Regions from separate parts of the Homo sapiens genome. Here all the other regions are linked to region 1. Evidence: promoter capture Hi-C in 16 types of primary human blood cells and fetal thymus (Javierre and others, 2016). All regions are on one chromosome and are shown on one strand. The core of a region is centred on a gene start or on the middle of the fragment in contact, and the rest is flanking DNA. Distances in the headings are between cores, read along the strand shown.

Evidence for each region. The method cuts DNA at HindIII sites, captures the fragments that hold promoters and counts their contacts. A CHiCAGO score of 5 or more calls a contact.
Region 2: a contact is called between a fragment that was not itself captured here and the fragment with the promoter of CFAP36 in region 1, in 3 of 17 cell types (M0 macrophages, M2 macrophages and M1 macrophages). The highest score is 9.0, in M0 macrophages.
Region 3: a contact is called between a fragment that was not itself captured here and the fragment with the promoter of CFAP36 in region 1, in 3 of 17 cell types (M0 macrophages, M2 macrophages and M1 macrophages). The highest score is 9.4, in M0 macrophages.
Region 4: a fragment that was not itself captured here is called in contact with the fragment with the promoter of CFAP36 in region 1 in 4 of 17 cell types (M2 macrophages, M0 macrophages, M1 macrophages and 1 more); the score reaches 10.4 in M2 macrophages.
Region 5: a contact is called between a fragment that was not itself captured here and the fragment with the promoter of CFAP36 in region 1, in 3 of 17 cell types (M0 macrophages, M2 macrophages and M1 macrophages). The highest score is 7.0, in M0 macrophages.
Region 6: a contact is called between a fragment that was not itself captured here and the fragment with the promoter of CFAP36 in region 1, in 3 of 17 cell types (M0 macrophages, M1 macrophages and M2 macrophages). The highest score is 8.2, in M0 macrophages.

What each region holds. Positions count from the first base shown.
Region 1 is chr2:55,518,468-55,523,240 of GRCh38, forward strand. CFAP36 (cilia and flagella associated protein 36) reads left to right here and starts at 1,251. Exons shown (of 10, transcript NM_080667.7): 1 at 1,251-1,449; 2 at 3,635-3,699. The coding sequence starts at 1,335. RefSeq lists enhancers at 552-601, 1,782-2,031. The HindIII fragment of the contact is 7,670 bases long and covers 1-3,102 here.
Region 2 is chr2:55,290,923-55,295,695 of GRCh38, forward strand. CCDC88A (coiled-coil domain containing 88A) reads right to left here. Exons shown (of 33, transcript NM_001365480.1): 31 at 4,675-4,773; 32 at 754-853; 33 at 1-242. The coding sequence ends at 789. Among named protein-coding and RNA genes, the nearest start is that of MTIF2, 24 kb to the left of the region's middle. RefSeq lists a silencer at 3,611-3,905. The HindIII fragment of the contact is 5,061 bases long and covers 288-4,773 here.
Region 3 is chr2:55,312,679-55,317,451 of GRCh38, forward strand. CCDC88A (coiled-coil domain containing 88A) reads right to left here. Exons shown (of 33, transcript NM_001365480.1): 21 at 4,528-4,671; 22 at 3,250-3,436. It overlaps LOC124907768 (a long non-coding RNA gene), which reads left to right. Exons shown (of 3, transcript XR_007086323.1): 2 at 1,310-1,573. Among named protein-coding and RNA genes, the nearest start is that of MTIF2, 46 kb to the left of the region's middle. The HindIII fragment of the contact is 7,677 bases long and covers 1-4,773 here.
Region 4 is chr2:55,330,691-55,335,463 of GRCh38, forward strand. It overlaps CCDC88A (coiled-coil domain containing 88A), which reads right to left. Exons shown (of 33, transcript NM_001365480.1): 15 at 3,404-4,474; 16 at 1,876-2,003. The region is part of intron 2 of LOC124907768 (a long non-coding RNA gene); the gene reads left to right. Among named protein-coding and RNA genes, the nearest start is that of MTIF2, 64 kb to the left of the region's middle. The HindIII fragment of the contact is 5,094 bases long and covers 1-4,773 here.
Region 5 is chr2:55,348,256-55,353,028 of GRCh38, forward strand. CCDC88A (coiled-coil domain containing 88A) reads right to left here. Exons shown (of 33, transcript NM_001365480.1): 9 at 1,263-1,344. Among named protein-coding and RNA genes, the nearest start is that of CCDC88A, 69 kb to the right of the region's middle. The HindIII fragment of the contact is 9,265 bases long and covers 1-4,773 here.
Region 6 is chr2:55,371,421-55,376,193 of GRCh38, forward strand. CCDC88A (coiled-coil domain containing 88A) reads right to left here. Exons shown (of 33, transcript NM_001365480.1): 4 at 3,394-3,463; 5 at 1,032-1,090. Among named protein-coding and RNA genes, the nearest start is that of CCDC88A, 46 kb to the right of the region's middle. The HindIII fragment of the contact is 573 bases long and covers 3,238-3,810 here.

The sequences.
Region 1 (4,773 bases), core at 1-2,500:
AAAAAAAAAAAAAAAGGCACATAATGATCATCTTCATGCATTCAGGTAAGATACTGTGTGCACATTCACAAAATAAAAATAGACTAAAGGATGGTTTATGGAATACTATGCAGTTGCAAAGAAAGCACAAATTTATATTTTTAAAAGATAAAGATATAAGAAAAAAATTCATAACTGTACATATAATCCTATTTATGTAAAAAATATATATATATATATGGTTGTCTGAAGATATTTTGGGACTCCAAACACCTTCACAATGACCACTGAAGACCCCATTCCACAATGGACTCCACCTAAATGCTGAGTTGGAGTTATAATAAGATTTGGTTACCAAGGCATTTATTTAAGTGAGTATTAACTTTGCTCTTGCCCTTGAAAAGCTCCTAATTCTAGTTATCTTTATCCAAGCGTAAGAGATTAAAGACCCGCCTGAAGATACAGATGCAAACTGACCGTAAGACAATCAGCGAGTCTCACACAGCTCGGCTTTGTATTTTCAGACAACCCTTTAATTACAAACGCCTCTGGGCCAATGGTCTGAAAATGGTTGGGACTGAGGTGCTGGGGATACAATGATGAACTGCAGCCGCTGAAGCCCTGTCAGGTGGAGACCCGGTTACCTCAGACCCTCACTGAGCCTTTTCTTTTTTCTTTTCTTTCTTCCTGTTTTTCTTTTGAGACGCAGTCTCCCAGGCTGCAGTGCAGTGGCTCACTGCAACCTCGGCTTCCCGGGTTCAAGCGATTCTCCTGCCTCAGCCTCCCGAGTACCTGGGATTACAGGCGGCGCCACCACGCCAGGCTAATTTTTGTATTTTTGGTAGAGACGAGGTTTCACCATGTTGGCCAAGCTGGTCTCGACCTCCTGACCTCAGGTGATCCGCAAGCCTCGGCCTCCCAAAGTGCTGGAATTACAGGCGTGAGCCACCGCGCCCGTCTACTGCGCGTTTTCTAAACCTTGGCTCCTACGCATTTATCAGAAGAGAGAGCGCAATCTGTCTATGACTTCCAGCCAATAGCTACACTTCTTTTCTCAGCCCTCGTCCACTGTTCTTTTTTAACCAATCAGAAACGTTTTTCAAACGTTTGCCCTCCCCGCTAAGTGCGCAGGCTCCTGGAAAGTTGTCTTCACTTCCGGGCCGCGGTCTAGGGCGGCTACGTGTGTTGCCATAGCGACCATTTTGCATTAACTGGTTGGTAGCTTCTATCCTGGGGGCTGAGCGACTGCGGGCCAGCTCTTCCCCTACTCCCTCTCGGCTCCTTGTGGCCCAAAGGCCTAACCGGGGTCCGGCGGTCTGGCCTAGGGATCTTCCCCGTTGCCCCTTTGGGGCGGGATGGCTGCGGAAGAAGAAGACGAGGTGGAGTGGGTAGTGGAGAGCATCGCGGGGTTCCTGCGAGGCCCAGACTGGTCCATCCCCATCTTGGACTTTGTGGAACAGAAATGTGAAGGTAAAAACCAGAGCCCGAACCGACAATCCTTTTCTCCTCTCTCACACCAGCGGCGGGCAGGGGGTTGGTAACCACAAGCCATCTCTCGTCTCCCCGACCCCCTGTCTCCACCCCTGTCGCAAGGTCTCGTTCCCCTCACCACCTTCTCCACCCGCGTCATCAGGTTTAGAGCTGGTTGTGTGGGAGGAATTCCTTTCACCCTGCCAATGTGTTCCTTCGCAGACCTGAAAACGGGGACCGAGACTCCCCTTCTCTGGGGCCGAAGCGCACGTCCGAAGAACATTAGACTTGAATCGTAAATTCGGTCTCTCACCCTGTCCCGAACGTTTCTGCCCTCGGCAGGTGGACTGTTTGGCTGGGCTTCTTCAACAGCTTTGCCAGACTTGAGAGGAGAAGCGTCGGTTTACCTGAGTTCCTTATGATCCCTAGCATTTCGCCCGGTGTAGTCAGCTTAGGAAATGAGAAATGATTTCACTCCAAACCAACAGTTAACTGCAAAGGAGGGCATGTGATAACTCCAGGAAGCCCAGAGCCGGTGATTTTGGTGGCCTGTGTTCCCCTTGGTGAGCTCTCTACTCTTCGCTATACCAAAAATTGGCGAGGTGGGGCAGGACCATTCTTGGAACAAATGAGGCGTATAGATATGGCATAATATTCCCCGTGAAGGACAGGCATCTCCGGGTTCTGAGCAGTTCTTCAGGCTTGGAGTTCTGCATTCAGTTCGTGGAGACTATTTGCAGCCCATTCGCAGAAAAGGAACCAGAAACCACGTCATATAAATGAGTGCCCAAGCGTTATTGTGGTTGTTTAATCGGGCAAGACTTTGAGGGTAGTAGTATTCATCAATTATTTGAACATCTGCTTTGTGTTGTAAGGTTGAGTAGAATAGAGCTAGGGTCAGTTGGTACAAGCTACAGGGAAACAAATTTCAGTGAAGGAAGTGTTTCATGATAGAATGTATCCAAGATGAGTTAGCCAGCCTCAGAAGGTAATGAGCTTCCCGGCTCCAGCAGTGTTTGAATGGATCTGATAGCGACTTAATAGGGTTAGAGGGATTCAGCTATTCAGCTATCAAATGGTCGGTTATCCTGGATGACCTTTTAAGACTTCTTTAAATTCCAAGATATCATGAATCTGGTAAAGATGAAATTCAGTTTGACCACTGAATCTTTTCATTACATTTTCATTGCTATAATCAATATTCAAATCGTAGTTATTAAAGTGTTATTTTTACAGGTAATTTTTTAACAATGTTCAAAAACAAAATAACTTGTATTTGTACTCCTTTTTTTTTTTTTTTTTTGGGAGACAGAGTGTCGCTCTGTTGCCCAGGCTGGAGTGCAGTGGCGTGATCTTGGCTCACTGCATTGTTTTATACATATGATCATTCAGTAAACACTTGTTTTGATTTTATTTAACTTCATTATTTATCTGTGGTAACAAAAATTGCCTGGTCACTTTCAGTAACATTTACATCAGCAAAATTCCAGTACAATAAAATAATATGGAACCTATTGTAAAAGGATTTAACCATTAACAATAATATTACATTAAAAGTTATGAAGAAATTATTGCCTCATATTGATTGAAATGTGTTTTTGTCTTAAATATGAGGTAGTATTCATTTTAAATATTTTCTCAAGTAGGCAAAAAAGCTTGTTTACAATTAATAGTATATATGTGTGTGTGTGTGTGTGTGTGTGTGTATATTTTTTTTTCTTTTTTTTTTTTGAGATGGAGTCTCACTCTGCCGCCCAGGCTGGAGTGCAGTGGTGCAATCTTGGCTCACTGCAACCTCCGCCTCCTGGGTTCAAGCAATTCTCTTGCCTCAGCCTCCCGAGTAGCTGGGTCTACAGGCGCGCACAACCACGCCTGGCTGATTTTTGTATTTTTAGTAGAGATGGGATTTCACCACATCAGCCAGGCTGGTCTCGAACTCCTGATCGTAGGTGATCCACCCACCTTGGCCTCCGAAAGTGCTGGGATTACAGGCATGAGCCACAGTGCTCGGCCAATAGTATATATTTTTAGATATATTCATTTATATATTTTTAAAAGATAAACCCTAAGAATTCAAAGCTGAAGAGCTAGGTTGACAGTTCTATTTGGAAGGAGTGGATTTTTAAATTTGCATTAATAAAATGATTTGGTTTTTACACTATGTAATATTTTCTTTTAAATTTAGTTTTTGATGATGAAGAAGAAAGCAAATTGACCTATACAGAGATTCATCAGGAATACAAAGAACTAGTGAGTATTTTTTTTCACTGATTTTTAAAAGTAATTAGGCTAATACTACTTATAGCTTTTCTAAATGAAGAAAAATATTTTTACATTAAAAATCCTTAATTTTACAAAAATCCAATCTACCTTAACAATAGTGCCAGTTATATCTGTCTCCACAGGTGCTCTGAATATCTCATTTGGATGACTTATCTCCTCTACTCTAAGGAATGGTTTTACAACTCTTTATGGGTTCTTGCATGTATTCTTTATATCTTATTCTTATTTTGTTGACGCATCCAGGGACATATTAATTATTCACTTCGTCATGGTTGTCATGTGATTTTTTTATTTTTTATTTTTGAGACAGGGTCTTGCTCTGTCACCCAGGCTGGAGTGCAGTGGCACTATCACAGCCTATTGCAGCCTCAACCTCCCCAGGCTCAAGCGATCCTCCCATCTCAGCCACCTGAGTAGCTGGGACTACAGGTGTGCACCACCATGCCCTGCTAATTTTTTTGTATTTTGTAGAGATGGCGTTTCTCTGTGTTTCCCAGGCTGGTGTGGAACTCCAGAGCTCAAGTGATCCACCTGCCTGGGCCTCCCAAAGTGTTGGGTTTACAGGTGTGAGCCACTGCCCAGCCTGTCTTGTGATTTTAAAAAATGCCTCTGGCAGTGGGGCTCAGTGGCTCACACCTATAATCCCAGCACTTTGGAGGCCAAGGCAGGTGGATTGCTTCAGCCAAGGAGTTCGAGACCAGCCTGGGCAACATGGTGAAACTCCATCTTTATAAAAATTACAAAAATTAATCAGTCATGATGGCATGTGCCTGTAGTCCCAGTTGCTTGGGAGGCTGAAGTGGGAGGATGATCTCTTGAGCCCAGAAGGTCAAGGCTGCAGTGAGCCATTACTGTGCCACTGTACTCCAGTCTGGACAACAGAGTAAGACTCTGTCTCAAAAAAAAAAAAAAGAAAGAAAGAAAGAAAAGGCCAGGCGTGGTGGCTCATGCCTATAATCCCAGCACTTTGGGAGGCCAGGGCAGGCGGATCACCTGAGGTCAGGAATTCGAGACCAGCCTGACCAACATGGTGCAACGCCA
Region 2 (4,773 bases), core at 1,568-4,067, 230 kb before region 1:
CAGTAGATCTTAACAGTACAAGGTATAGTAAGTCCTAAAACCTTTAAAAAATTTTGGCAGTTGAATCCAGTAGTGCTCCTTGATTCAAGGAATGAAGGTTTGTATTTCTTGCCTGCTCTATTCACGAAGGACTGTTAAAAGTCTCCTTAAAGATTTTTAAAAATGATTCCTATAGTTGCTAGGTGTCTTGTTACTTCAGAAATAAAGGCTTCATACTGAGAAACTGAAGGACACTTTTCTCTCTGTATTTAGTTGGAAGGTAGAAAGAAGAAAGAAAATATAAGAAAAGCTTAAAGATAAGAGAGACACAAAATACAGAGCAGCCACTATAAGAACAGCATGCACCAGGTATTTCTATAAGAATGAGAATGACAGACAATCAGAGATAATTTTTGAGTGGCTCATCATAGAATAGGCATTTAGTCATTAATTTTCAAGAAAACTGTGGGGAAGTTGTATTCCTACCACAAAAGGCTTCAAACTAAAAAAGTAATTCCTAGAACATAATTCACTAGTAAAATTAAATTTAAAGTGACAAAAAAACTTAAAAAAAAATACTTGTTCCTTGCGCTGACAGGTAAAAACCTATGGCAGCCAACTAATCTTGCTTCACTAGTAAGTAGAACAGAAAGTCAATGAATTAAGCAAGCAATATTTACATCTGTTAATGCAATGTGCACTTGTTTCACACTTAATTTGGTTAGTTTGTATAAATGAGACTAATCTCATTTACATTTTAAGCAGGAAACTCACCACTTGGCCCACATGTCATGTAGTGGGTAATAGAATTAGGAGCTTTGTTGCTCCCTAGACCTGCTTTTTGAATTTCTGCTTTCTTGTACTTTGTCCACATCTGCAGGAGAAAAGCATTTCATGTTATTTAGTCAAAGATGAAACAAAATACAATTCAGAAGATAAGAAATACACTCTCACTGAGTAGGGCAAGGAGAAGGAATCTGTAACTGTCTGGGAAAATTATTAATCTCATAGGCATCTCAATACTTAAAGATCGATTTTTATATTTTAAAGCTATAAGTAATATTCCTAGGAAAGCTATAATTTTTAAAAAAACTATAACAATTACATTTCCCCCCCTCTTAGTGCCAGATAGCCTTACTATGTTTATTTACTAAATGGTCACCTACAGTCTTAAACATAATCTTGCATGTAGTAGCAAAACCATCTGGAATGAAGTATTTGTATTATTTACTAAGAAAACCAGGGCTTGATGCATATTTTATAGGCAAATAATGTTCCTCCTTACATTGGTTAAAGCTAAAATTGCTTTGGTCAAAGGGGATGCAGTGCATAAGAATATGTTTATAATTTCTAGAAAGCTAGGCCAGGAATACTGAAAGCTATCCAGCTTCATCATTTATAAAATTAGGGTACTGAATCTTCGAATAGTTTTACAAATAATCCTTTTGAAAACTGGAGGTGTCTTAGAGGAAATAAGTGCAATTGCTCAATTGAGTCAGAGTTGTTTCACTTTTACTTTAAATGAAATTCATTTTTTAAAATTTGGGGCATCTATGTAAGATTTCACTTACAGAAAGTATTGTTTTTTTTCTTAAATGTTTGGGACACATCGGTTCCATATGATTTCTAAGGTATTTTCACCACTAAAAATTTGATTCCAAATGCTATGAAAAAACGTTGATAAGAACTAGTGTTGTGGCCAGTCGCAGTGGCTCACGCCTGTAATCCCAGCACTTTGGGAAGCTGGTCAGGAGTTGGAGACTAGCTTGGCCAACATGGTGAAACACCGTCTCTACTAAAAATACAAAAATTTGCTGGGCGTGGTGGCATGCTCCTGTAATCCCAGCTGCTTGGGAGGCTGAGGCAGGAGAATTGCCTGAATCCAGGAGGCAGAGGTTTCAGTGAGATGATATCACGCCACTGTACTCCAGCCTAGGCTACAGAGTGAGATTCCATCTCAAACAAACAAACAAAAAGAACTAGTGGTGTTTTGGGGGGAATTTTATGACTCCACAGCAGGTGATGATTTCTGAAGTCCAGACTGTATTTTCCAACAGTCCTCAGGACACATGGACATGATACATATTTCTCTTATATGCACAGTGTATTTTTTTTTTTTTTGGAAACATGCTGCATATAAACATATAGCTTTTTGGGTAGGAAATAGTTCTTTTCTGTAAGTCTAATTTTGTAAAATAATCACATAATTTTAATATAATAGCATGTGATTTTTCAATGAATTTTGAATGAATAAATACAATATTTTGAAGTGTTATGGTCAGAATTATGATATCTAAAAAGTTGAAATAGCTGTGAAATAATCTTTGACTCAGTGTGGAAAAGAAATAACACTAATTATAACATTTGTGTCATATACTGCCCCCATTTAATCTCAGCTATGTTTACTATTAAGTTTTGTTACTGGCCTATGAAAAAACAAAAGGGAAAATATTAGCACCAAATATATTTGAAATGTCAGGACTGACTGGGAAGTAACTGACAATAAAATAGAAGGATGCAAAAAGTATATTAGGTGGTACTAAAATATGACAATCCTCTGATTGTGTTCATTTGATTACCTGTACCAGAACCATTTTTTTTTTTTTTTGTAATAGCTATCGGAAAAAAAGTGTGATTACAAAGGAGACAAATTTCATTAGGAAATATTCTCTACAGATTTTTTCTTTGGTCCAGTTAATAACCACTTAATACAACAACAACAACAACAAGTATAACATAATTTCATCCCCACATGGTCACATTTGAAGGCATTCCTTCCAGGTGCCAGGCTGAGTCCTTATCAGCTATAGGCTAAATCCAAATGGCAAAAAACATTCCAGAGAGAATGCCAATGTGTATTTCTCTGGAAGTAAATGGATCAGGGTTATGGGTTTTTTTGTTTTTAGCAATCTGGGAGTTAGAGATTCAAATTTAGCTAATTTGCTTTAAAAGTGCTGTGAACACAAAAATAAAAGTTCTTTGCACTGGAGTCAAAGTTAACAAATATTTTCTTACTTTTTTTTTTTTTTTTAAGCTAAAGAGTGTATTTATTCTTAGTTCTAAAATTTGTTCTACTAGAAACATACTTGTTTAAATGGTTACAAGTTCTAATTTTACATTTTAGTGTGATTATTCATTTAAAAAAAATTCTGTTTTAAGGATATACATGTATAATTTAATAATAGATTAATTATAGAAGTAACAATTTTTACCACTTTGTAAACTTGCTACCCTTTTTGATTAGAAGTAAAAATACAAATTTCCAACACAATGAATATAATTTGGTTTATTTCTCTTTGACTCTCTATAAAAAAAGAACTGGAAAAACTATTGTATTAACTGATTTCAAGTATAGAAGCCATCTTGAAGAAAAGACAGTTACTTGAGCTCTTGTATTTATCAGATGATGAAAAGTGCAGAGAAGAAACAATAAATACAAATGTTCCTAGTCACTGTGTAAATCACATTTAAATTTGATGGGGTTTTCTAAGAATAACACTAAGTTTATAAGTATTAACAATCTTTTAAATCTGAAAAATGTTTTATAAATATGGGTATTAGTTAATATTTGTTATATAAAGTGTTGAATTATTAACTATTTCTTTAAAACAGGACAGATGGCCTAATTAAATGACAAAAGAAAACAACATCTTTTTACATTTTCCCTACTGATACTGTACATATGTAATATAAAGTACACATTCTGGAAGAAAAAAAGGAGTGACAGTCAGAGCAAGTGAGGGGTGGGAAGAGGAGGAAGGGAGGGAGGAAATGAACATTTTTTTCCAGAAGCAACAAAGCAAATATGACTTGGAAATGTCTTCTTGGTAAGAGAGCATGCAACTGTTTTAACATGCTTCTGGATATCAAAGTAACAATCTTATCAGGCAACAAAAAATGTGAAGGAGGAGCATGTATGGTTAAGGTTTTTAAAGGCATGCAGAAAATGGACAAAGTAATTAATATTTCATGCAGGTTTTGGTGTGGTTACACATTCACATTAATATACATGCCATCATGTACAGCTGAACACTGTGCAACAATTTTAAATAAAAAATAAAAACCTAGCCAAATGATATTTTGTTAACAGCAACTTTTCAAATCATATTAGAGAAGCAGTGTATATCAAATAACATCAATATATTATATTGTGCAGTTTTGATCATATACAACCATATTCATACCAAACAGTTTGATTATCCTCAGAAACCAACAATGCAGCTTCTGTGTCATCAGGATAGAGGCATGCAGAAGTGACAAGATTGTTGCTATTTATAGAAAACTGTAGGTTACTGTTACTAGGGTTCTGATGATCAGAAAACTGTTCATTTTCTTTCTGTGCAGGTTTATCCAAAGAGGCAGAAGCCTGGTCAGTTATTCTGATAACTGGCCTAGGAGGTAACCCACTTATGTTACTAACTAATTCTGTATTCAGGGATAAGAATGGCTGAGATGAATGGGCCACAGTAAATGGTCCTATGCTATCTTTTGCCAACATTCCGAATGCATCACTAGGCATCCTAATAGTGGCAAAAGTTTGGTTTAGAAAATGTGACCTTCCTGTTCTTGAGTTTCTAGCCTGGGCATATAGAGGCTCAGGCATGTCTATAGCTAAATCATTTTGGGCACAAGAACCTATAGTATGTGTTGGGATGTCAAGTATATGAGAGGACCACTGGTGTAAATGGTACTCACTAGATGCTGCAGTGGTGTTGCTGTCAGCAGCAGCTGGTGGTGAATCAACTGATATAGGCAGTCTACTGTCCTTGGTCAAAAAATCATGGATGCTTGTCC
Region 3 (4,773 bases), core at 1,080-3,579, 200 kb before region 1:
GTTTGAACAATTAGATGATTGTACTTTTATCAGAGCATGATTATTTTAGTGATGACACCTACAGCACTGGGTTACATGCTGTCTCTCTCTCTATATAAATATTTTCTTAATTTTCACAAACACTGGGTCTAATATATAATATATTATCTACTCCCCAAACACTGCTTTCTGTCTTTAAAACTGTTTAACTTATAGTATAGTCCAAAAGCTAGATTCAAATATCTAATATTTTATTTCTATGAAATGTTAGACAAGTAAGTTCTCAGATCTATGAAATGAGGATAGCTCCCACCCAACAAGGCTGTTGCAAGGATTAATTAGCATATGTAAAGTATCTAGTAGCATGTGTGTAGCACACACTAAGTACTTAGTATGTCTCATAATTTCCCCATCTACTGTTTTCTTTTTTTGAGACAGAGTTTCACTCTTGTTGCCCAGGCTGGAGTGCAATAGCATGATTTCGGCTCACTGCAACCTCCGCCTCCCAGTTTCAAGCTATTCTGTCTCAGCTTCCTGAGCAGCTGGGATTACAGGCATGCGCCACCACACCCAGCTAGTTTTGTATTTTTAGTAAAGATGGGGTTTCTCCATGTTGGTCAGGCTGGTCTCTAACTCCCAACCTCAGGTGATCTGCCCACCTCGGCCTCCCAAAGTACTGGGATTACAGGCGTGAGCCACCGCGCCTGGCATCCATTCACGGTTTTCAAGAAACCTTAAAAGTCTGTGTATAGTTTTTGTAGCTTGATCAAGGGAAATCGGGTAATTTAGTCAATAGTTGGTATTAACAGCTGGCATTACTAGTAGGTGGGCTGCCAGCAGCATTGGGCCTTTTCTACGCAGTTAGTAGAAACTGGAAATATGCCTTAGCTAGGCCAGAGGTTCAAACAGAAGTTAGCAGAAGGCCCAAAGTAGTGATTCTAAAAATTTGGCGTCCCTTGTAGAGTAGATTTGTGGGCCCCAGCATTCAAATTCAGGTCTCGAGTAGAGCCCAGAGATCTGTATTAAAAAAGCAAAAGCAAATAACACATACCCGCCCTGCCTACACCACCACCCCGGCCGCCCCCCGCAAAAAATAAACATTTTGAAAAATTTCAAAAGGTAGAGAAAATCAGGGAGAATTATACTATAATCATAAACAACCATCTAGATCTGTAACTGTGAATATCATACTACGTTGGTTTTATTTATCTGTATGTTGTTAAATTGAAACATAACATATGTGGTAGATTCATTAAAAAACTGAATGCATTTATTTTCTTCCCTGTACCTATGCCCTCTTGCAATGTGACTTCTCACTTTTCCCGTAAAGAAGTGGAATCTATTTTCCTTCTTCTTGAATTTGGAATGCTTTTGGCCAAGAGAAAGAGGTGGAAGTGATGGTGTAACAGTTCCAAGTCTAGGCCTCAAGTTGCCTGTGGACTTCCACTCAGACTCTCAGAGCCCTGCTGGAGGATGGAGAGACCACATGGAACAGAGAAGGGTTATCCCACCGAGGCCACCATAGACCAGCCAGCCCTCAGCGTACATGCCAGCTAATTACAGATGCAGGAGCAAACCCCTGGCCCATACATCAGTGAGTAGATTAGCATAGATGCTCAGCAAACTCAGACTCATTAGGCAAAAAGAAATGTTTACTGTCCATTACCACTAAGGTTGTCTCGTTGTTAAAGAGCATTATCAGTGTCAATAGACAACTGATAAAGCATATATAAAGAAAAGAGAACAATTTTTTTTGTTTGTTTGTTAGATGGAGTTTCGCTCTTTCGCCCAGGCTAGAGGGAAGTGGTGCGATCTCGGCTCACTGCAACCTCTGTCCCCCAAGTTCAAGCGATTCTCCTGCCTCAGCCTCCCGAGTAGCTGGGATTACAGGCATGTGCCACCACGCCTGGCTAATTTTTGTATATTTAGTAGAGATGCGTTTTCACCATGTTGGCCAGGTTGGTCTTGAACTCCTGACCTCAGATGATCCACCCGCCTCGGCCTCCCAAAGTGCTGGGATTACAGGCATGAGCCACCGTGCCTGGTCCAAGAACAAATTTTAAGTGTATATAGAGCTCAATGAATTATCACAAAGTAAACATATATGTTAAACTAGCACCTGGATCAAGAAACAGAACATTAATTGTATTCCAGAAACACCTGTGCTATCTTCCAACCACTATCCCTTCCCACCAAGGTTAACTACTATCTCAACCTTTTATACTATAGATTAGTTTTTTCCACCTCCACTAAATCATGTCATTATATGACTTAGCCCTCAGCCAATAATTAACATTTGACCCAAATTGTGAGAATTAGCCAGGGATGCATAGATAGCTAGGGCCCTCTCTGGTCTCTCTTGAACAGTTTTCTGGACCACCAGTGACATGTGGAATCTTATGAAGACCCACTGAGGCTGACTCATTTCTTGAAAATCCTTTAATTTTTGACTGGTTTACTGGTCTGTTACTTGCCCCAACCAATATTTCAACCTCAGGCTATCTAAGAGCTGACCTTTGACAGCTCTCCCACGCATGGGGCTTTTCTATGCTCTGTTCCAAATCAAGTCAGTTTTCTCCAGTAGAAAAGTTGCTGTTTTTCACAGCTTGCCCTGTGCTCTGTCAAAACTACCAGGCACAGGAACCAGGGAAGGAGAAGAGGAATGGGAAGAACCCCAAGATAAAATGCCTCAGACAACCACAGTTCCTTCCCAGGGTTGAATAGTTTTGCTTTAATAAATGCTTCTCAATTTGCTATATGCCCTTGTTGGGTTCTAGAGTCCTAACAAGGTTGTTTTTGACAGTTCTGTCCAATTTTATTGTTTCTTAAGGAGTTGATTTGCCACATTTCTCACTCTACCATTCTGGAGGTATACCATCCTATAATTTATTTGGACTTTTATAAATCATAGGTAGAATGAATTACTTTCTGAGCTTTGTTGGGTAATTAATTGTATGTTGTTTCCAGCTAATTTTTCTATTGGTTTATAATTTCATGCCAGGTGTAAACATTTTTTCATTAAATGAATAATTTTACAATTTTCAAAGAATTTGGACATAAGTTTAAGCTAATAGTTTTTAAAATATTGTAATTAATGATATGGGAAGTTGTTCTGAATTACATGTAAGTTTCAGTGATCCTAGACCAAATTCTTTTAGATATATGCCACTAAATATATACTAGTATTGTCATTGTAATCTAGTCATTTATTTCTTAGGCATGTCTTGGTGCCTAAATGAAGGACACAGTGATTAAACTTTTTAAGCTCACCTCACACTGGTTATTCAGCTTGGTTGATGTAATATCCAATTGTTGGTATTGTTCCTTTAGTTTTGAAAATTCAGCTTCTAATCTTGTTTGTTCCAGTTTGGAATTATTCAGAAGACTTTTCAAATTTTTATGGTCAGTTTGTAAAACTTCAGTCTCTTTTAAAAGTTGACTATAGGTATGATTCAGCCTATAATTAGAAATCATAGAAATATAATTAGATTATCTTAATAGCTTTTGGTGTAATTTATACAATATGAAATGATATAAATAACATTAAGGCATACTTAGAATAAAAGACTGTTTTACAAGTTACTAAACTTATCAAAAATCAGTTTCTATTCTGTAAAAACTAGATTTTTTAAAATTCTGAGTACCTTTCCCTTGAAAATAATTTTTAATTTCCTTTTTTCATCCACCCATCTCCACACTGGGAAAAGAATTTTTTAGTCTTTAAATATGTTGAAGTATAGGTACTCAAAGTTTCAAGTATTAATAAGAAAGTATTGGCTGGTTATTGATGGTCCATGTCTGTAATCCCAGCATTTTGGGAGGTAGAAGCAGGAGGATCACTTGAGGCCAGGAGTTTGTGAGCAACCGTGGGGATCACAGGAGACCCTATTTCTACAAAAACTAAATATTAAAATAAAAAAATTAAAAATTAGCTAGGCATGGTGGTGTGTGCCAGCAGTTCCAGCTACCTGAGGGGCTAAGGTGGAAGGATTGCTTAAGCATAGTAGTTTGAGGTTGCAGTAAGCTATGATCATGCTACTGAACTTCAGCTTGGGCAAAAGAGTAAGATCCTATCTCTCTCTCTCTTTTTTTTTTGGAGATGGAGTCTTACTCTGTTGCCCAGACTGGAGTGCAGTGGCGCGATCTCGACTCACTGCAACCTTTGCCTCTCAGGTTTAAGCAATTCTCCTGTCTCACCCACCCAAGTAGCTGGGACTACAGGTGCACGCCACCAAGCCTGGCTAATTTTTGTATTTTTAGTAGAGACGAGGTTTCACCATGTTGGTCAGGCTGGTCTCAAACTCCTGACTCAGGTGATCTACCTGCCTCGGCCTCCCAAAGTGCTGGAATTACAGGTGTGAGCCACTGCACCCAGCCTATTCTATTTTTTAAAATTCCGAATTCAAACTATGCTTGGTACTACAAAGGGGCAGTATATAGTTTGGATGTAAGAAATAATACATAATTTTGAAAAAACATATATATACACATATATATGTATATACTTTCTATATAAAATGTTTGTTATATATAATATATATTTATTACCTATCATTTTCACCACAAAGTTTCTTGTATTCTGCAGCTACTGTTTCATGATTTTTATTTTCAAGCAGCATTTTTTCCTGTTCTACTTTGAGCATTTTTTCCAAATCTTCCAACTGTCCTTTCTGTTTTAATAACTGATTGTAACTGGGGGGAAAAAAGGCATTTGGTTTATAATATTTACAAAAAAGAAATTTTAGAAATGAAGGAAATGAGTAATGAGTATCATTTAAAACACATGTAAATTTA
Region 4 (4,773 bases), core at 1,287-3,786, 190 kb before region 1:
AACATATACCCTTATCTCCATGCCTAATTCATTATGTAAATAAATATGTGGAAATAATGAATGGCATCACATGTTGCCTAGACTATTATAATCACTTCCTATCCTGTCTCTGTGCTTCCAAATTCATCCTTTTTGTAATCCATCTTTCATATACTCTAAAAATTGCTCAGCATACTTTTGTGCTTTTATACAAATGCTTTTGTCTACATGGAATGCCCTTTCCCACTGTTCCCACCTTGTAAACCTCTGTCATTTTTTAAGATTCAGTTGAAACATTATTACTACTTTGATGCTAGATGATCAGCAGATAAGAAGAGCTCAATTAACATTGGCTAACTGTATGAATTAAGGTTTGGGAAGAGGAGGCAAACTGTATGAAGGGTCCACCCAGAGCTGGGTTCATAAATTTATAATAGGGTCAAGTAGCACTACAGGGTGTATTCTACTTTTTCTTTTGCAAACAACATGCAGTACAGTGTCTTACATATAGTAGGTAATAAATCTGTTTGAATAAAGAGGGGATGCATATTCAGTATCTATATTAAAAGACAGTCAACGAAATCTGCACTTATCTGATTAACTCAAATAAAAATATTTCCTCATGAAATATCTGTACAATTAATTCAATAATCATTGCTTGACTTGAACTGATTGCTAGAATAAATGCCTCAAATTATATCTTTTTGTTATTACACAACTAACTTTTTAAGTGTCAATCTATCCTATTTACTTTGAACATTCTGAAAATTACATGAACAAATCCTATGTAATCACCATTAATTCTCCCAATATACATTTAATACAGAATATAAATACTGGAACAGTAATAATGAGTAGATAAAATATAAATTATATAATTACAAAAACTGAATGAAAATCTAGTCTACATAAAATAATATTCTTAACAATATACAACTTCTATTCCAGCTGGATTCATGGAGCTGACTGGATGCTAAATAATAGACTTGAAAATCAGATTAACTCTGTTTGATAGATTGTAATTACCATGAGAGAATACATATTTTTTTAAACCTATATTGATCATTTTTAAAATTAAAAGGCATAGAAGTTAATTTTTTATCCAGCTTTTAAGGCTTTAGTTTTCCACATTATTTTTATACCTCAGTTGCTTTTCTTTTCCTTTGTTTCATACTTTTCCTCCATTTATCTTTAAGTCAACATTTTGGCAAATAAAGAACAGAGATATTTAAGCACATGATTCAAATAAAAAATAACTTGCTTATTTTTGTTTGTTGTTAATGTCTTATTCTGTTTTTACAGTCAATTATAGCCTCTGATCTTCTGCTACCTGGGTGGCATCCTGTTTTCCTATTTTATAACTGTATTTATATAGTAACATTTTAGTTTTTTGTTTTCTTATATCTATATTAGATTGTCTATGATTCCTCTTTTCTCCTTACAGAACTTTCTTTTTTTTTCTTTTTGAGATGGAGTTTCGCTCTTGTTGCCCAGGCTGGAGTGCAACGGCACGATCTCAGCTCACCGCAACCTCAGCCTCCCAAGTTCAAGCAATTCTCCTGCCTCAGCGTCCTGAGTAGCTGGAATTACAGGCATGCACCACCATGCCCAGCTAATTTTTTTTGTATTTTTAGTAAAGACAGGGTTTCCCCATGTTGGTCAGGCTGATCTCGAACTCCCGACCTCAGGTGATCCGCCCGCTTCAGCCTCCCAAAGTGCTGGGATTATAGGTGTGAGCCACCGCACCCGGCTACAGAACTTTCCTTAAGGGAAGGAAGGAACCAGAAATAGGGTGAAATATATAAATGTTTTCTATAGCTAGTACAGAAAGAATTCATGTATGAGCAAAAAAAAAAAAAAATTTTCAACTGTTTGCCAAGTAGACTTAGTACTCACCTGTCATCAGTACTTTGTTCATCATGTAAGAGTCGCTCCTTATTTAACCCTATCTTCTCAAGCTCATGAGTTAATTTTTCGAGATCATTGTTCATCTGTTGGGTCTTCAACTTTTCACTCACCAAATCCTTATTTTAAAAGAAATGCAAAACTCACCTAAGTGTCAAGGGTATAAACATCTAAGAAAGTCAGCTAAGATTCTAATTACCACCATCTAGGAATACATGTAATTTGAACCAGGAAATGTCATTAAACCATTCCTTCATTATTAAAATGTAGTTAAAGTTATAACCTAGTTGAAATAACTTTTTTCCTTTTTTTTGCTAATACTTTAAACAAAACCTTAAAAGGGAGTAGTAACTCTTTACTTGTGAATACACATTTAGGTTTGAAAACTGGGGAAAATCATATCCATTTACTTTTTAATAATGAGCCTGAACTTTAGTGCACATTTCTTCTTATAAATATATGTTGACTATAATACTTCTCTCCCACAAGATCCCTTCTCCCAGTGAAAGAGGCCCTATGATACTGATCTGAAGAACTAGAGGATGTTCTTAGAAGTTTAGGCACAAGGAACTTGTTGTTCATGTTTATAAGTCTACAGAAGAAAAAAATAAAAGGTCCCTCTCAATGCTTCTTTAGCAGAAATGCAGACTGCCCAATGTGACCTTCTGCCAGAATGCTAATATACTTTTAAATTGAACTTAAAGGGTTATCACATATTATAATGCTTAGAGATGGGAAAAAAAGAGCCAAACATATACCTTCTGACTTGCATCAACCATGTTTCACAGGACATACTGCCAATTTACTCCTGTAAGTTTCAGAATTCTTCTTGATACATAGATTCAAGCAAATACTAGTTGCTCAGTGTTGAATGGTTGAACCTGATTTGCATTCTCTGGCTTTGAGGTCAAAATTCATGGGGCTTTGGAGTCTGAAAAATCTGGATTTGAATCCAGTAATCCAACTCTGCTATTTATTAGCTGTGTGATCCTAATTTATTTAATGTTTCTGAACCTCAGTTTTCTCATCTAAAAAATGGATATAATACTTATAAAGGATTAGTTGTAAAGATTATGTGCATGTATATATGTGTGTATATATATTTGGGTGTGTGTGTATATATTATTTATGTATATACAACTTATATGAAGTTTTTAGCCCAGTACTTGGCACACAGCACTCAATAAATAGTAGCTATCATGCTTCTTTATTATACTTAGAATTTAGTGTCTTGATCAAACATTATTATATTGAAATAAAGGTTTAAAATTATAATGTAATAAGTCAGATACCACTAGGAAACTTTATTACTACAAATTCTTTTAAAAATACAATTTATAGGTATTTCTTAGTTTAACAAAGTAGGAAACTTGGAAGCTATTTCTAGTTCTAATTCCAAAATTCTACTGAACCATAAAATAAATGATGCAAATTACTGATAGATTCCAATAAAACTTAAAGAAACCTTGAGTTAAAAATATAAAAAAAAATTTGCCTTAATTTAGGTAAACATATTTACCTCACGTAGTGTAACCAACGTTTTTATATCAATAGTTGCTCTTTTCACAAGCTCCTTATTTTCTTTTTCTAGTTCTTTCAGACGGACACAAGATTCTTTATATATACCAATTTCTTTGGATAGGGTTTTGTTTTCTTTTTCCAAATTTCCAATCTTCACATTATTTTCTTCTAATGTGGTATCTTTAATTTCTGCTTGTTGTCGGAGTCTCTTATTTTCCTTCTCCAATTGTTTCTTATCCTTTTCCAGTTGAGAAGTCTCTTGCTCTAATGATTTATTTTCTTTTTCCAGCTGTTCTAGTCTTTTGCTAGATATTTTTAGTTCTTCTAGGTTTTTCTGCAATGTTTGATTTTCCATCTCTAAGTCTTGTAGTTCACTCTCTAATTGCTGGATTTTTTTATTGCTGTTCTCTAAAGTTTTTTGCAGTCTTTGATTTTCTATATCTAAACCCTGGTAGCTAACTTCTAAGCGTTCTGTTTTCTTGAAAGATGCTTTCAGGAGCTCCAAACCCTTCTTAAGTTGCTCTTTTTCACTTTCCAGTTCTTTGTTTTCTAGCTGTAGCTGAGCCATTTTCATGCTTGCACACTTCAAAGATTCTACATTCCTTCGCAGTTCTAAGTTTTCCTCATCAAGTTGGGAATTCTCTTTTTCTAGGGATTCTAACTGAAAGGTCAGATTTTTAAAGCTATCCAATGTTTTTTTTAATTTTCTATTTTCTCTTTCTAGCTCTGAATTTTCTTGTTCTAAGGCCTCAATTTTTTCACAAGTAATTTTTAAATTAGTTATTTTTTTCTGTAATAATTCATTTTCTTTTTCAAGATGATGCAATTCATTTTCAAGTTCTTCAGCTCGTTCTCCTTTTTCTTTATAATGTTCCAATTCTTTTTTAATTTGTCTTTTTTCAAATTCAATCTTGCTTAGCTTGCTACTTGTTTCTTTGATAGATTCATGAAGAATTTTGTTTTCTTTTTCAATGTCTTTCACTCTTGCTTCTGCACTTATCTGGGACCGCTGCCTTAAGGAAGACACTGTTTGATTCAGATGTTCATTTTCCTGTTCCAGTATCTTAATCTAATTTGAAAAGAAAATAATTAAAAGCTGTAATTGAGGAAAAACTAACTATGGTTTATCTCTTCCAAAAACTACCAAGAAAAGGGGAACAAAAAAAGGGTGCTAGAACATGTCTTACTTTTAATTCTGACAAGTATTTACTGAAGACCACTGTGTACACTTACTGTGAGGTCATTTACTGAAGACCACTGTGTACACTTACTGTGAGGTCATTAAAGTTCATGTTTTTAGGAAGTTCACAGTTTAAAGGAACGGTTGAGAAATGTATTTTCTATTAATCATAATGGTCTTCAGATTAT
Region 5 (4,773 bases), core at 1,369-3,868, 170 kb before region 1:
CGCCCAACCCAAGTGACTTAATTTTTTTTTTTTTTTGAGACGGAGTCTCGCACTGTTGCCCGGGCTGGAGTGCAATGGCGTGATCTCGGCTTGCTGCAACCTCCACCTCCCGGGTTCAAGCGATTCTCCTGCCTCAGCCTACTGAGTAGCTGGGATTACAGGTGCCCACAATCACGTCCGGCTAATTTTTGGTATTTTTAGTAGAGACAGGGTTTCACTACGTTGGCCAGGCTGGTTTCGAACTCCTGACCTCTTGATCCACCTGCCTCAGCCTCCCAAAGTGCTGGGATTACTGACGTGAGCCACCGCACCTGGCCAGACTTAAGTTTTTAAAACTTCATAGTTTTAGTTTCTAATATGGTAAATACCAATAGATATAATCCACATTAAACCAATCCTCATTAATTTTTAACAGTGGTGAGGAGGCTTGAGACCAAAAAGACTGCTTTAGAGAGAACCTTTAGAGAAAACTACTGCTTTAGAGAGAACCAACACACGTAAAAAAAACCCTGCTGCCAACAAGTAGAAAAGCAACCCCAGCATGTCTAGAAATAAAGACTATGAAGCCCAGTCTCATTTATCTATGAAGGTCCCAGTTTATGATCCTACAATTACAGTATTCCCTGCATCTAAAGTCAGGTATGGGGAAGTTAAGGGAAGAAACAACTATCCAGCCTTATCCTAATCCTTAGCACTTATGGATTAAAGAGCTCATACACTAACCCCAAATAAAAATGAAACATTAGAGTGATTGTAAAAGTGAACTATTAATTACTCTTGGTTTAAGGTGAAAAAAGAAGAAGCTGCTGTAAAATAAAGATACTTTTTAAAAAGTTTTAATCTTATTTAATAGGAAAAGTGAAAAAAATCAAAAAACATTCTATTACATATGAGTTAGCATAAAGCACTATCAGGGAGCAGAGACACAGAGAGATACACATAAAGAGCACAGTTTACAGTAGAGGTGTTCTAGCTTCCAAGGCCACAGAAGCCAAACACATCAAAAAGAAAAATGTGGAACTACCTCAGTCCTAAGTAGCTCTTTTGAATCTTAGCAGAGTTTGAACAGCATTAATATGGAAGAAAGTTTGGCTCTGACATTTTTGAAGAGAGAGACTCTGAAAAAGTCATCCAATCTCTTGAAGCCTCAGGAACCTCTTTTATTTACATAAAGCATTGAAGTAAAGGTTATAAATTACAAGGAAGAAAATCAATTTCCAATTACTTGGTGGTCCTAAATAACAGATATTCCAGGTACAAACCTCTTGTTGCAGCCTTTTGAGTTCTATTTCCATTTGCTCAAGTTCTTGTTTACAATCCAACAACTGCTCAGTCTTTTCCTCCCTTAAATGCAAAAATATATTCATTAAGTATACTATTTTTGAAAACTGTGATCATCATCTGCGTTAATATAAATGTATCATCATCACTAAATAACTAGTTGGACATAGTATTAGCCATAACCCTAATCTAGAAGATAAAAAAAAAAAGATAGATATTAGGAATTTATATAATTAGATGCCATTAATAAAACCTCTTCCCTAATGTTTTCCAAAGGCTAATGTTCTCATAGTATGTAATACAGTTTTTCTCTTTCTCTCTTTTCATCTTTCCTGCCCTTCCATTTCCACTCTTCTTTCTCTCTTCCTCACTCTCTGCAGTCACAGACAGTTAAGCTAAGAATTTTTTTTGAGACGGAGTCTGGCTCTGTCACCCAGGCTGGAGTGCAATGGCGCAAACTTGACTCACTGCAACCTCTGCCTCCCAGGTTCAAGCAATTCTCCTGCCTCAGTAGCTGGGATTACAGGCGCCGGCCACTATGCGGGCTAATTTTTTTATTTTTAGTAGAGACGGGGTTTCACCATGTTACTCAGGCTGGTCTCAAATTCCTGACCTCAGATGCCACCCGCCTTGGCCTCCCAAAGTGCTGGGATTACAGGCGTGAGCCACCGTGCCCAGCCTAAGCTAAGAATTTTTATGCAAGGCAGTTCTACCTGTGTCTAAGATTTGTAAGGGTCTCCAACTATTTTCAACATTTACAATGGCTGAAAGGAAATTACATACTTCCAATTGCCATATGATACTAAAATCTTTACTTCGCTATTGGTTTCTGCCCTGTAGCCTATAAACATCCTCAAATTTCTTCTATTAGTTTTTCTCTTAGAATTGCTTTACTTCTAATCTCCCATTTTCTCTCTCTCCTTCACAGTCAAGCTCCTTAAAATAAGCCTCCACTTACTATCTCTACTTTTCTACCTTCTGTTCTTTAATAATAAAGTAAATGTTCACTGTATAGAACTTATTGTTCTCATCTCGTGCCCTTACATTTTTCAAAACCATTATATATTAATATATATTATAAAATATAATGTGTATATTATTTAAAATATATTATTAAAATATATGTATGTATATATTTTAAGAGACAGGGTTTCACTCTGACGCCCAAGCTGGAGTGCAGTGGCATGATCACAGCTCACTGCAACCCTGAACTCCTGGACTCAAGTGATCCTCCTGCCTCAGCGTCCGGAATAGCTGGGACTATAGGCATGTGCCACCACTTCTGGCTAATTTTTTGTAGACACGGGGTCTCACTCTGTTGTCCAGGGTGGTCTTGAGCTCCTGGCCTCAAGCAATCTTCCTGCCTCAGCCTCCCAAAGCACTGGGATTACCGGCATGAGCCATGGTGCCCAGCCCAAAACCATAATTTTTAATGGTAGAAAAATATTCCCTTTGCTAGAGAAACCATACTTTACTAAGTGGATTCCATTTTTCATTGTACTATATAATCTTTTAGTAAATAAGCTCATTACTATACATAAAATCCTGTGTATTTCAGGATAGTTTTCTTTTTCTTTTCTTTTTTAAGAGAGAGGATGTCACTATGTTGCCCAGCCTTGCTTTGAACTCTTAGGCCCAAGAATTCCACCTCAGCCTCTTAAGTAACTGGGACTACAAGTGCACACTGCTGTGCCTGGCTTTTAGGACAGATTTCTAAAAGTGCATTACAAGTTAAAAGGCATTTGAAACACATTAAGTATCCCTTTTCTGAACTGCTTGGGACCCAGAAGTATTTAGAATTTTTTTCAGGTTTTTTTTTTCCTCCATTTGAGACAGAGTCTGACTCTGTTACCCAGGCTAGAGTGTAGTGGTGCAGTCCCAGCTCACTGCAGCCTTGACCTCCTGGTTCAGGTGATCCTCCTGCCTCAAGCTCCCACGTAGCTGGGACCACAGGCACATGCCACCACACCCCTAATTTTTAAAAATTATTTGTAGAGACGGGTCTCCCTGTGTTGCCCAGGCTGGTCTCAAACTCCTGAGCTCAAGCAATCCTCTTGCCTCAGCCTCCCAAAGTGCTGGAATTATAGGCGTAAGCCACCATGCCCTGCCTCATTTTAACCATTTTTAAACATATAATTCAGCAGCATTAATTATGTTCACAATGTTGAATGTTGGCCATTCATCTGTTAACATGCAGAATTCAAAACAGATGTCTACAGAAAAACATGCACCTGAATGTTCATAGCAGCATTATTCATAATAGCCAAAAACTGGAAAGAATTCAAATGCCTGTCAACCAAAAAATGGCTAATCAAAATGCGGTATATCCATTCAGTGGAATATTACTCAACTCTAAAAAGAATAAAGTATTGATACATGCTACAACATGGATGAACCTGGAAAACGTTATGCTAAATAAATGAAGCCAGTCACAAAAGGCACGTATTGTATGATTCCATTTATACAATAAAATGTCCAGAATAGGCAAAGTCATGGAAACAGAAAGCAGACTAGTGATTGCCAGGAGCTGAGGGCAAAGGGGGACAGACAGTGACTGTTACTGAATATGGGGTTTCTTTTTGTGGTGATGAAAATGTCATGAAATTGGTGTGTGGGCTGGGCACAGTGGCTCACTCTTGTAATCCCAGCACTTTGGGAGGCTGAGGCAGTGGATCAGAAGGTCGGGAGCTCAAGACCAGCCTAACTAACAAAGTGAAACCCTGTCTCCACTAAAAATACAAAAATTAGCCAGGCGTGGTGGTGCATGCCTGTAATCCCAGCTACTCAGGAGGCTGAGGCAGAATCGCTTGAACCCAGGAGGCAGAGGTTGCAGTGAGCCGAGATCACGCCATTGCACTCCAGCCTGGGCAACAGAGTGAGACTCCATCTCAAAAAAAAAACACACAAAAAAACACAAAAAAACAAGAAATTGGTGTGTGATGACTGTACAACTCTATGAATAAACTCTATGAAAAAAACCACTGAATTGTTCACTCTAAAAGGATGAATTTTCTGACCTGCGAATTATATCTCAATAAGTCTTTTATTTTTTTGAAAAATAATGAATAGTTTATATTAGAAAAATTATTTCAAAACATGGGATTTATGGAGGCAGAGTTAAAGGGAGTCTTTGGTAGTATTAACTACTGCATAAAAGTGAAATTGCTATTTTAAATTTAAAAATTACTTTTTTCACTCATATCACAAATTATACTTTTACTCTATATGTTTATAAATCAAAAGCAATTATATCATAATGTACTGCCCCATAAATGAGTATGCTGTTAATTTGCACTTTCTGATTGTAATTACTTATTGTATAGTTTCCATTTGGTATAAGGCAACCTGCTGTTTTTGTCTACCATGATTTCTGCACTTCATTCACTTTAGTAGAGATCTGTCCCAATAAAAAGAACTAATAGGAGATTTACTTCTTTTTAATAATAGAAGAAATCCATAAAGAAACACATTTTCAAAGGGCAATGAAGATAT
Region 6 (4,773 bases), core at 2,274-4,773, 140 kb before region 1:
TTATAAATAACCTCATTCCACAAAGAAGTGAGACAGTTTAAAATGACACTGTAATAATTCATCCAAAAAATGGCTGAAATGAAAAACATAGTATAATAGATTTTGAAGTCAGAGCAGAGTTGACTCACAGTTCTTTGGACTACTAGCAATATGACCTAAATTTAAACTTAGAGTAATCATCCTGGTTTGCCTGGGACAGTCCCAGTTTACACATGCCATTCCACTGTAATTATTATATGTATTTAAAACAGAAATGGGGTTTCATTATGTGCCCAAACTGGTCTCAAACTCCTGGCCTCAAGTGATCCTCCCATCTTAGCCTCTCAAAGTGTTGGGATTACAGGCATGAGCCACCACGCCTAGCCCACTCTATAATTATTAACAGTACCTTCTTTGACTTTCGCAAGTGTCCCAATTTCGATAAAAACTTAAATATTACCCTACCCAATCTCCTGACCTGAAAGAAGATATTATGAGAAAATCTATGTAAGGGATAATATCTGACACAAAGTAGGTATTCTATAAATCATAGCTATTATTATAGTCATTGATCAAAGAGCAATATAATAATAAACAAGATTCCTAAAACACTTTTCATAAATTCTGCCTCCTTTTTTACCTTTTTTTTCTTTTAAATAAATTCTGCCTCCTCCCTTCCCTTCTCTTCTCCCTTCCCTTCTCCTGAAACATACACGAGTACAACATAAATCACAAGGATGTTTTGGGAGCGGTTTTTAAGGGCACCTCTGAAAAAACCTCAAAAATTTAAGGTCATTATAAGCCTCAGAATAAGGAAAAGAGTAATTAAATATTTTAAATGATATGACTATGATAATGTAACTAAATTCTGAAATAAAATAAGTGGTTTTTTTCAATGTAATCTCCTTAGGAGGTTATACAGTTATTGAAAATTTTCTAACATGGACTTTGAAAACCAATGGTCCATCCTTAAGTCTTTCAGAAACTACAGCCTGATAAAAATATATAAAGAGGTTGTTAAAATGAAAATATGAAAAAATATTTTAACTTACCTGAACTGCACAACCCAATAAAAGTAAAAGCAGTTTTTTAACTTCTTCTGTGCCTTGTTCTAAAATAGAAACAATTATTAAGGACAACATTCTGCTATATTTTCAACTCTATTATATTTGGAGAATCACTTCTAGAGGTAATTATGCACAGTAACTTGAGTGAAGGATTCAGTCTAAGCATATGTAGTGGAGCATTCAAAATAGCAGCTCTGTGTATGTACACGGTGGTAACAGCAGAAGAAATGGGGAAGAATATCAATTTTGAAGGGCTAATGGATAAAGAGGTTTCAAGGCTCTGTGCAACAAGTATGCTAACTATGAATCTACTCCTTTTCCATAAATGATTGTACTACCCCAGCCTGACAAATCAAGAACCTGCCAAATCAGGTTGATACAGGGACATGCCACAAAGGTAGCCAAAATGGCTCCTAATAGGTTTGGCTCCTCTTAGGCCTATTAGTGTTTTCTTACTTAAAACACAGATCTTATGATTCATCTCCTTATAAAATTTAAATGGTTTTCCACTGTGCAAGTTCATGAAGACCAGAATCTTAAATGTCTGTTACAGTGAGGCTGTTAAAATAAATGTATATAACAAGTCAGGTAAAAGTTAACAATCTATAACAGAAATGGAGAGAATATTCCCTGTCCAACAGCATTCAACTAAGATTTTCTTAAAATATTCAACTGGAAAAAAATCACTTCTTTGGGCCAGATTTTCACCACTGGGCCAATCTGTCTATGAAAAAGTCCAAATCTTCTTATCAGACATTTCCTTCTACTCTCCATGAAACAACCTACTTTCTAGCTATGCTGAGCCATTAATCACCATTCTTCCCAAATATGCATATATACAACTCCTCTGCCTTAATACTACTCCCTCTGTCTGTCCTCCTTCCCCAACCTCCTCATCCCCCTAGTGAACTACTTGCTAATCACAATCCTAGGCACAGCTCTTATCATCTCTGTGTAGTCTTCCCTGATCCAATCATCAATGGTCCCCCACTCTCACTTATACGTCAACTTTAAGAATAATTAATGGCTCCAAATTTTATATGCCAGAACATTTGGTACATATTTTTACTTCATACTAATTATTACATGATTTCCCCATAATCTGTGTATCCTTCACCAAACCATAAGAGCTTCTAGAACATAGACCATTTATTTCCACTCCTGGTCCCAGTAACTTGGTAGGTACTTACCAAATGTATGTACGATGGGAAACAATTCCATCCTACACGCAATTTTTTTCATTTTTAAATTTATATAATCAAACATCCCATGGTATCTCTAAAAACTAAGCTGCTAATTCACACATCTAATTAATAGTTTCCTCTATAAAAATAGCTACTTGATTTTAGTTTTTATTTTGGTTTTGTTTGTTTTGACTGAGAGGGGGTATGGGCTGAAGAAAATACACTAATTTGGATAACATGTAGACTGTAAGGATAAGCCCATTGTTGAAACTGTTAGGTAGCTGCTAATTTCCTCAACTGTTCAAAAATTACAATTCTAAAATATCACATTTAAAATGTGGTATAAAGGGCAGAACATTTTGAAGAAAAAATTAAATGATCTAAGAAACTGCCTCTCATCTTTCCATTCAGAAGAAGTTTAATATAAATTAAAACATATCAGACTGGGCGTGGTGGCTCATGCCTCTAATCCCAGCACTTTGGGAGGCCGAGGCGGGCAGATCACCTGAGGTCAGGAGTTCGAGACTGGCCTGGCCAACATGGTAAAACCCTGTCTCTACTAAAAATACAGAAATTAGCATGGTGACCACGCCTATAATTCCAGCTACTTGGGAGGCTGAGGCAGGAGAATCGCTTGAACCCAGGAGGTTGAGGTTGCAGTGAGCCAAGATCATGCCATTGCACTCTAGCCTGGGCAACAAGAGCGAAACTGCATCTCTAAATAAATAAATAAATAAATAAAACATATCAATCAGTAAAACTTAAGATTCAAACAATTTTGGCAATGGTAGATAGTAGATATATGAATAGAAACCTGGAAATTATTTCAAAATCATTTCTTTTCTAAGGTAATATTCTTTTAAGTTTGTAACTACATCATCTTCTATACTTCTCTATAATGAGACACTAAAAATCATCACAAAAGTATCTGTTTGGTATAGTAGAAAAAATACTGAATTTAATGTAAAATTTATGTCTGGTCTTACCTATAACTTACAAATATTCTAAGCTTGTCTCTTTCTATAAAATGGAACATCACCTCCAACGTCTACAGTTGTGAAAAATCTAGTGAGTTAATGTATATAAGCTCTTAGTAAAAAATAAACATCATAGTATTACACAAAGGTTAGACATTACTTTCACAGCTTAATTTTAATACTTACCAGAAAAGGGATTTTTGCCAATGATTAAGACATTTGGCAACGACATCATGATCAATTGCTGCAAAGTCTCCTGTAAAAAAATATCCAACACTTGTTATATGGGTAATGCTAACTAGATAATTATTCATCAAGCTATAACTTATGATTTGTACATTCTTCTGTAGGTGTGCTATATTGCAATTAAACAAATATGGAAAAAGTTATATAAGGTCTTAAATCTTTTGTAACTTCAATGAATTAAATAACTAAAATTATAATACCAGATAGACTTCAGTTAATAATATATGAGGCTGGGTGCGATGGCTCATGCCTGTAATCCTAGCACTTTGGAAAGCCAGGGTGGGAGGATCACTCAAGATGAGCCTGGGCAACATAGTGAGACCTTCATCTCTACACACAAACAAATAATAATAAAAAAGCTTTAAAAATATCAGATGTCCCCAAATTAAAGCATTCAAGTCAAAATGGTCTAATTATTATTTGGAAATCTGAAGTTTTAGGTGCTAGAAAATTAAGAAACATTCCTCAGTAAAAGATCGAGCAAAATTAAGAAACATTCCTCAATAAAAGTTCGAGCATGTGTGCTCTTTTTCTTCTTGTTAGTTCTCACTGAGGAAACTAAAAATACATCAAATTTATAAGTACTGTCACTGTACTATATATATATATATATATATATATATATATATATATATATATGTATGTATGTATAAATATGTTGGGTTTTTTTTTGAGATGGAGTCTCGCTCTGTCAGCCTGGCTGTAGTGCAGTGGTGTGATCTTGACTCACTGCAACCTCCGCCTCCTGGGTTCAAGCAATCCTCCCGCCTCAGCCTCCCAGGTAACTGGGACTAGAGGCGCCTACCACGATGCCTGGCTAATTTTTGTATTTTTAGTAGAGATGGGGTGTCACCATGTTGGCCAGGCTGGTCATGAACTCCTGACCTCAAGTGATCCACCCGCCTTGGCCTCCCAAAGTGTTGAGATTACAGGCATAAGCCACCACACCAGGCCATATTTTTAATATAATAAATAAGAGAGCTATATTTTTAAAATGTCAACTGATATTAAAATTAAGAAACCTAACTGCTTTATTAAAAATGCTGTCTAATGATCATTTCATGAAAGTCAGTTCCTCCTCAGTGAAACATTATTTCTCTCCTCTACAACAGATGTTTAACTTCTATAAAACTTTAGTTACAAGAATACATGTAGATTCTGAACGTACAAGGTGATTCAGAAAGAACTGAATTCTTTCTAATTCTTCAATTTAGTTAATACATCAAGTATGCACCTTCTGTTTATACCACCTCTTCTTTGAAGAAATGAAGAAATACATTGTATCTGCCATTACAACCACTGACACTGATGATATGCAAA